2 separate regions of the Homo sapiens genome follow, and region 1 is linked to region 2. Evidence: promoter capture Hi-C in human tissues and cell types (Jung and others, 2019). All regions are on one chromosome and are shown on one strand. Each heading gives the region's core, a stretch centred on a gene start or on the middle of the fragment in contact. The rest is flanking DNA. Distances are from core to core; before and after follow the strand shown.

Region 1 (5,928 bases), core at 2,345-4,844, 670 kb after region 2:
GAGTAGTGTTGTAAAGGCTAAGTAGGCATTTATCTCATGGATTAAGGGGAACATATATCAGTGTTTCCCAACTGTGAGCGAACTCTGTCTCTTTATGATAATTTCTAGGATTTAACTTGAGGTCCATAACTAAAAGTTGTAGATACAAATGCACATACACACCTACACATGTGCAGATGCCTGCATGCCAGTAACTAAAAACATTTGCCTGGGAAATAGTTTTTTACTGGGAGGGTACCAGTCCACGTGATCGAAATCTCGAGGGATAGCTTTTTTTTTTTTTAAAGCATAGTGTTTTGAAACCATGTATCTTTGACCTCATATATAACAGAATTATGAAGACCTTATAAGATCATGTAGTGTTCTTCACAAAATGTGTGATAGGATCTTGATTATATGAACAGAATGTTTATGAAGACTAGAAGGTAATAAATATATGGAAAATATTCGACTTTGTTAGAAAAAAGTTAAGAATAAGCTACCATCTTTTGAAATCTATATAATCAAACATTGGTGATCCTAGTAGCTGTGAGGCTCATGAAGGTGGTATTCTTGTACATTTGCCAGTGACGATACAAATAGGTATGACAGTTCTAGAAAGCAGTTAGGCAGCTGAGCTGTGAAATATTCCTACTTTTTTTTTTTTCTTCATTATCTGACTTCTGGGATACTGTCGTAGGTCACTCAGACAGTGTTAATGTTCCTCAGTTTTATTTTAATTGTGAAATATCGACTGCCACCAAAATGAATGAGAGTGGCAAAAACGAAACATCGCTGCTCTCTGAAACAAAACGACACAACACAGAAAATTACATCAAGGAATAAAAAGCCAATTTTAACATTGAATTAAAAAATTTTGCTTTACACTGAAATTTTTTAGTACATCCAAACGTTTAGAGCTTTAATTCAGTGCTGTCTGGCCTTAATTCAGTGCTGTCTGGCCACAAGATTGCATCACTGTGAGTCAGGAAGTTTTCTCGAGTTCAGGAAAATAGAATATTAATGTCTTTAAATGTCTCTAGACTCTCCTCCAGTTGTAAATAATAAGCGTGTTTTGATTCTACTATAAGGTTTGCTTTCAGGAGTGATCCGCTTCAAAGTAAATGGTTTTTGTGGCTTTCACAGATCAAGCACCTGTGAAGATAGCAGATAGGAGAACATGTGGCATTTTTACTTTTTATGACATTTTAATGAAATGTATCTTTGAAATGTGTTATGGGGGAGAGGTCCAAGGTGGTAGTGGCATGTGTGGGCCTGTTCCTGTTGAATTGTGTGCTTTGCCCAGCAGTCCTGCTCATTGCCTAAACCTGGGCTTGCAGTTGCTGAGACTGCCTGGGAAGCCTGTGTGTTATGTGATACCTGGAAGCACTGACACTTCATGGCAGCAATTTGAGGAAGATTGGAAATAGGTTCTTGTAAACAGGTGTATAAATAGCATAAAAGCTGTATTTTAAAGGCTCAAATGTTTTCCACACCAACAGGCTTGATAAAATCATTTAATGAATTTATTGGTGTTTTGTTTTTTCAACATTAATCCATTCATATAAAAAACATTGAGTGGTAAGCGCTTTTCAAGGTGTTAGGGATACAAAGTGTACAAAATTAAATTCTTGCTTGCATAAACTTACATCTTAGAATGTAAGAAAAACTCCACATTTTTCTTTTTGATGTTCTTGTCTAATTGATATTTCTTTCTTTCTTTTTTTTTTTTTTTTAAACAGGATTTCACTCTGTCACCCAGGCTAGAGTGCCATGGTGCAATCACGGCTCACTGCAGCCTTGACCTCCTGGCCTCAGGTGATCCTCCCACCTCAGCCTCCTGAGTATCTGGGACCACAGGTGTGTGCTACCATGCCTGTCTCATTTTTTATAGACATGAGATTTTGCCATGTTGCCCAGGCTGGTCTTGAACTCCTGGACTCAAGGAATCCTCCTGCCTTGGTCTCCCAAAGGCCTGTTGGGATTACAGGTGTGAGGCACTGCACACAGCCTTGATTATGAGAATTTTAGCATATGTTGATGAAATACAACAGGCATTATATACACTTTAAAGGTGTTTGGATATATGAATCATACCTTGTTCAAAAAAGTGAAATGTTTGTACCTGATATGATCCACTGATGAAGGCACAATCACTTCTGTAGGATTCTTTTTTTGTTTTTGAGATAGGGTCTCACTGTGTCGCCCAGGCTGGAATGCAGTGACACTATCGCGGCTCACTGAAGCCTTGAACTCCTGGGCTCAAGAGATCCTCCCACCTCAGCCTCTCAAGTAGCTGGGAGTACAGGTGTTCACCACCATCCCTGGCTAATTGTTTAATAGAGATGGGCTCTTGCTGTGTTGCCAAGGCTGGTCTCAAACTCCTGGGCTCAGATGATCCTCCTGCCTTGGCTACCCAAAGTGTTGGAATTTCAGGCATGAGCCACTCTGCCTGGCTCTTGTATAGGATTTTTGCCATTAATGCATAACCTCAATCTACTCATGAGAAAACATCAGACCCAAATTGAGGGACATTTCTCAAAATAATCAGCCAGAGTGTTTCTCAAACATGTCAAGGTTATGAAAAACAAGAATGGTTTAGGAAGTATTACAGATTGGGTGAGACTAACACTGAATGCAGTGTAGAATCCTCAGTTGGATTCTGGCCATAAAAAGGGTATTACTGGTAAAATTGGCAAAATAGGGCCTATAATTAGTTAATGGTATTGGTATTGTATGTATTACGTAGTTACCTAATTTTGATCATTGTACTATGGTTATATAAGCTGTATTAATAATAGGGGAAGATGAGTAAAGGGCATATGGGGATGCTCTGCAGCTTTTCTCAAAGTATGAAAGTATCTGAAAATGTAAACAAAGTAGAAATTTGCTTTTTTATTTCTTACTAAGGTATCTTTAAATATATGAAGTGATATGTTAATTAGCTTATAACCATTTCATAGTGCATACATATATCAAAACATGTCATACATTAACTCTATATAATTTTTGTCTGTTAAACCCTAATAAAAAAGAATAAAAGATAAAAGTTTATAAAGATACTGATTGACCAAGTGGGAAGAGAAAGAATATGACTGTTAGCTCAGCAAAGCATAACAAATCTGAGTCCACAAGGAAAGTATTATATTTACTTCTTGGTGAAGTAAAGCAATTTGCTTCTAGCAAAATGATCTGTTTATGGCCTCTCTGTAGCACTTTACCAGTAGCAGCTGACACGATGAGAGGTTCCAATGGATTAGAATGGCTGTTTTGAAGCTAGAGTTTGTTGCATACTTTCTCAAGCAAAGATCTTACAGTTCCTTGGCATAAGGGCTCAGGGTATGAGTCATTCAGCTCTCCTGGAATGTGTCCTGGATAGTGTCAAGCCATTCCAAACAGCAGAAAACATCCTCCTTTATTCCTTTTCACTCTGGTTGGGAAAGCTATCCCCTGAAGCACCATCTGGAAAGCTTGCACTCTGCAGTGGAAAGGGCATAGTTTCCCAAACTGTGTACTCGGGGAGCTGTGTGCTATTTAAATTTTTAAGAGAAGCACAGCAATATTCAACATCTGTTGGCTACTGTGTGAACTACTAGGTTAAGGCTGTTCAGTTTCAGTATTAAATCATACTGTGTTCCTTCGATGACATCCACGGGAAGTTTAGAATATGCTCACAAAAAGGAGTAAAAAAGAATATGCTCACAAATTCTTTGCTATTTCTCCCTGCAAAGGTGGATTCAAATTCTCCTCTTCAGTATAGGCTGATTCACCTCTAATGAATGGAGTGTGGTAGAAGTGGCAGCATGTGACTTGAGAGATGGCTTCATCGAAGGCACTGTGGCTTCTTCCTAGCTCTCTCTTTTGGATTGCTCATTTTGGGGGAACGTTAGCGGCCATGTCATGAGGACACTCAAACAGCCTTGTGGCCTCCTGCCAGCAGCTGAGTCCCATGCCCAAAGATTCTCTCAGAGCTCAAAATAATCTATTTTATCTGCGGTTATATTCTTTACTTAATCCTCATACTGCTTTTGGGTTTTTCTCACCAATCTTTGGTTATGTTAAGTTTGTGTTTGTGTTGGCTTATTGCAGATTTGGTTTAGGTTCATTGTTCTTTTAATTTTTATTTATATTTAGCCAATTCAATAATTTCTTTTTATCTGTATTAAATCTTTCTTTGAAATTCCTTTGAATTATTTTTTCTTTTTGAGTTGAATTACTATCTTTTATCTCATTTTCTTTTTTTTTTTTGAGACAGAGCCTCACTCTGTCACCCAGGCTGGAGTGCAGTGGTGTGATCTCAGCTCACTGCAACCTCCACCTCCTGGGCTCAAGTGATTCTCCTGCTTCAGCCTCCTGAGTAGCTGGGATTACAGGTGCCCGCCACCACGCCTGGCTAATTTTTGTATTTTTAGTAGAGATGGGGTTTTGCCACGTTGGCCATGCCGGTCTTGAACTCCTGACCTCAGGTGATCCACCCACTGCGGCCCCCCAAAGTGCTGGGATCACAGGTGTGAGCCACCATGCCTGGCCTCATTTTCTAATAAGGTTAAGACTATGACTTTTTTTTATAGTATGAATCTGACTACATTGCAAATATTTTGGTAGGTACTGTTTTCATTGTGATCAATTTCTAAATAGTCTATTGTAATAATAGCAAGTTTTTACATAGCAGTTACTATGTGGTGGTGGTGTTTTGAGTGCTTTATTATGTATTAACTCCACACAGTTAGCAAGGATTGGAGCCGGGATTTGAACCCTAGGTAGTTTGGCTGCAGAATTCGTGCCATTAACCACAGTGCCGTGCTGCCTGTCAGTTTGGTTTCTTTTTCCTCCAAATTGAGGTGTAATGGAAGTACAGTAAACTGCCCACATTAAAAGTGTGCAATTGGATAAGTTTTGACATACGAATACACCTGTGAAGCCACTGCCACAATCAACATAAACATTTCTATCCTTGCTGGGTGTGGTGGCTCACGCCTGTAATTCCAGCACTTTGGGAGGCCAAGTTGGGTGGATCACTTGAGGTCAGGAGTTTGAGACCAGCCTAGCTAACATGGCGAAACCCCATCTCTACTAAAAATACAAAAAATTAGCCGAGCATGGTGGCACATGCCTATAATCTCAGCTACTTGGGAGGCTGAGGTAGGAGATTGCTTGAACCTGGGAGGCAGAGGTTGCAGTGAGCCGAGATCGCGTCATTGCACTCCCGTCTGGACGACAGAGTGAGACTCTGTCTCAAGAAAAAAAAAAAAAACTAACAAAAAACATTTCCATCCTTAAAGCTTTCCTCATGTCTCTTTGCAATCCATCCCTTTTGCCATCCACTTCTGCAGCTAAATGCTGATCTGCTTTCAGTCATTATAGATTAGTTTGCAGTTTCTAGGCTTTTATAGAAGTGCAATCATAGAGCATAGAGTCCCTTTTGTCTGGCTTCTTTCACTTCTTTTAGCATATAGATTTTGACATTCACCCCACACCTTAGTATGTTGCTTTGTGTTTTAATTATTCATTCCTTGTTATTGAATAGTATTCCATTGTATGAAAATACCACACTTTTTTTTTGCATTTACCTGTTGATGGACATTTGTGTTCTTTCTGGGTTTTATTAGCAAGAAAATTACCTGTATTCAGTTGTGTAAGGCCTTTGTGTAGACATGTTTTTATATCTCTTGAGTAAATATCTAGGAGGGACTGTTTAATGTTAAGAAACTACCAAACTGTCTTGCAAAATGGATGTACCATTTTACATTCCCATTAGCCGTGGATATGAGAGCTCCAGGTGCTTCACATCCTGACTAACGCTTGATATAGGCAGGTTGTTTTGGTTTTTGTTTACAATTTTAGCCATTCTAATGGATACAGAGTGCATGGCAGTTTTATTTTGCATTCCCCTGATAATAATGCTGAACCTTCTTTGTGTGTTATTGACAATTTTATATTTTCTTATAA
Region 2 (2,500 bases), core at 1-2,500:
CGGAGCCCCCGCGGGGGTGTGGCCAGTGTGAAGGGTGGGGGCGTGGCCAAAACCCAGAGACCCCGGGAAAAGCTCTGGCTGTCTCGCCCCGCCCTGGGCTTTATTCGGACGCTGGGTGGGGCTGGTACGGGGATGGAGTCCCTGGTCCGCCGTCCTCCTCACTGCTGCTGGACGTCACCTGGAGGTCTCCCGAGTAGCTCTCTTGGGGGACAGTCCGGCTCAGTGCCTCCCTAGCCCCGCCGCCTCTGGCCCCTAACTCACCCCGTGTCCTGAGCTCACCGGTTCTCCGGGGATTCCGAGGCCTAGCTGCTGTTGCGACTGTCGCAGGAATGAGGCAGACCCCTGCAGACCCCGTCCACACAGGCATAGCCATGCTCCCTGGACTAGGAGCCGGGCGCTGGCGCCCACCGCAGCCCCAGCTTGCCGAACCCCCTGCCCTGCGGCTTGGGCTACCCGGCTCAGCGCTGCACCCGGATCCCTGCCGTCTGGGGCTGGGCCCGCGCTGCCGTCTAGTCGCCGCGCCTCCTGCTGCAGCCACAGGGCTGAGATCTGCATTGGGGGCACAGGGGTTAGCGGGGAGGCAGAGGTCCTTGTTCCCGCTACCCGATCGCCGCGTATCCTAAGCCCCCCAGTACCCCACCTCTAACAAGGTGGTGCCGAAGCTCACGAGGCTGGCTGTGGCTTCTCTCAACACCAGCCCCAGGGTGGGCTTCGGGGCAGGCAGCATCCCCTGCATCTTCGGTTCGGGTGGCTCCAGGGACTTCAGCTCTCTGAACCTCTGCTCCAGATATTCATGGGCTGCGGCCACGGAGAGTTCCAGGGAAGACAGAAGCGGGGGCTGGAGGGCCACCTGGAGAAGGAGCAGAGCAGTAGAGTAGCAGGGCAGGGGTCACAGGGGCGAACAGGAGACCTACCCAGAAGGTCTCGAGGTGCAGCCCTTGGCGGGCGTAGCCTCACCTCGGTGGAGCTGTGGAAGTGGTAGATCCACATCAGGGTGTCCAGGGAGCTGGGGGTCCCCTTCATGGCCGCCACAAGTGGTAGGACAGGAGAAGGGCTGGGGGACGCGTCTGTCGTCGTGTAGGGGGCGCAGCTGGAGGGCGTAACCAGCCCGTACCAGGAGAAGCCGTGTTTGTGAGGTCAGCGCGCGGCGCCTTCGGTAGCTGGGAGGAGGAACGGTGATGTCATGCCTTCCGGGCTCCTCAGGTTCCTTATTTTCGTCATGGTGGTCGCCACGCTCATTGTCATGAATTGCGTCATCGTGCTCAACGTGTCCCAGCGGACGCCCACCACCCACGCCATGTCCCCGCGGCTGCGCCACGTAAGCGCGGAGGGGGCGGTGCAGCCCGGGTCGGGGTGGGGCTTCGTACTAACCTCGTCCCCTAAGCCCCGCCCCTGCCCCAGGTTCTCCTGGAGCTGCTGCCGCGCCTCCTGGGCTCCCCGCCGCCGCCCGAGGCCCCCCGGGCCGCCTCGCCCCCAAGGCGGGCGTCGTCGGTGGGCTTATTGCTCCGCGCGGAGGAGCTGATACTGAAAAAGCCACGGAGCGAGCTCGTGTTTGAGGGGCAGAGGCACCGGCAGGGGACCTGGACGGGTGAGCACAGTGGCCCTGGCCCGGGGGGCCGCGCGGGGTGCCTGCCAGGGGGGAGGCTCCTAAGGCCCACCCCGGTGTTTTCCCCGCCAGCTGCCTTCTGCCAGAGCCTGGGCGCCGCCGCCCCCGAGGTCCGCTGCTGTGTGGATGCCGTGAACTTCGTGGCCGAGAGCACGAGAGATCAGGAGGCCACCGGCGAGGTGGGACAGGAGCCAGAGGCGGGTGGAGCGAGGCAGAGGCCCACCACTGTCTCCCATGCCGCTGGCTCCTGCAGCTGCCTCTTTACTGACTGTGCCGACCCTTCCCCAGGAAGTGTCCGACTGGGTGCGCATGGGGAATGCCCTTGACAACATCTGCTTCTGGGCCGCTCTGGTGCTCTTCAGCGTGGGCTCCAGCCTCATCTTCCTCGGGGCCTACTTCAACCGAGTGCCTGATCTCCCCTACGCGCCGTGTATCCAGCCTTAGCTCGCACCGACTTCAATTTCCCACCCATCTCCAGTAGGAAATTGATTTTGAAAAAGTAGGCTGCCGCCACCACGGCATTATGATCCCTTCCCCCTGCTGATCAATCTGCAGTTTGTGAACTTCACAAGAATGGTGTGTGCCCGTTCCCTGGCGTGTGTAGGCCTGGCCGCAGTCCAGGGGTCAGCAGGAGGAAAGGGTTCACATAGGCTCTCAGGTGCCAGTCTTCCAGAAAGCAAGGACTGCCCTTCATTCAGCCTTGCTGACCTCCCAGCCTTTCTAAGGCTCAGCCCCACGGGACTCTGGTGGCTGCCAGCTTGTGAGCTATCTATCTATATTCATTTCATAGCCAAACAGGAGACCCCTTTGCAGGACTTGCACACAGGGAGGCTGTAGCCAGGAAACCCTCTTCTTCCCTGGTCTGGCTCTGCTGGAGCGGGTGGGAACCAAACA

Evidence for each region. The method cuts DNA at HindIII sites, captures the fragments that hold promoters and counts their contacts. A contact is called where the count stands out against the background at its distance.
Region 1: a fragment that was not itself captured here is called in contact with the fragment with the promoter of C17orf107 in region 2 in 3 of the 25 tissues and cell types used here (dorsolateral prefrontal cortex, lymphoblastoid cells and spleen).

The regions. Positions count from the first base shown.
Region 1 is chr17:4,227,723-4,233,650 of GRCh38, reverse strand. The region is part of intron 3 of ANKFY1 (ankyrin repeat and FYVE domain containing 1); the gene reads left to right. Among named protein-coding and RNA genes, the nearest start is that of ANKFY1, 33 kb to the left of the region's middle. The HindIII fragment of the contact is 6,569 bases long and covers 310-5,928 here.
Region 2 is chr17:4,898,286-4,900,785 of GRCh38, reverse strand. It overlaps C17orf107 (chromosome 17 open reading frame 107), which reads right to left and starts at 1,250. Exons shown (of 3, transcript NM_001145536.2): 1 at 958-1,250; 2 at 641-850; 3 at 1-549. The coding sequence starts at 1,023. The coding sequence ends at 253. It overlaps CHRNE (cholinergic receptor nicotinic epsilon subunit), which reads left to right. Exons shown (of 12, transcript NM_000080.4): 9 at 1,204-1,318; 10 at 1,402-1,588; 11 at 1,679-1,785; 12 at 1,895-2,500. The coding sequence ends at 2,050. RefSeq lists an enhancer at 864-1,173 and silencers at 1,374-1,483, 1,504-1,653. The HindIII fragment of the contact is 33,281 bases long and covers 1-2,500 here.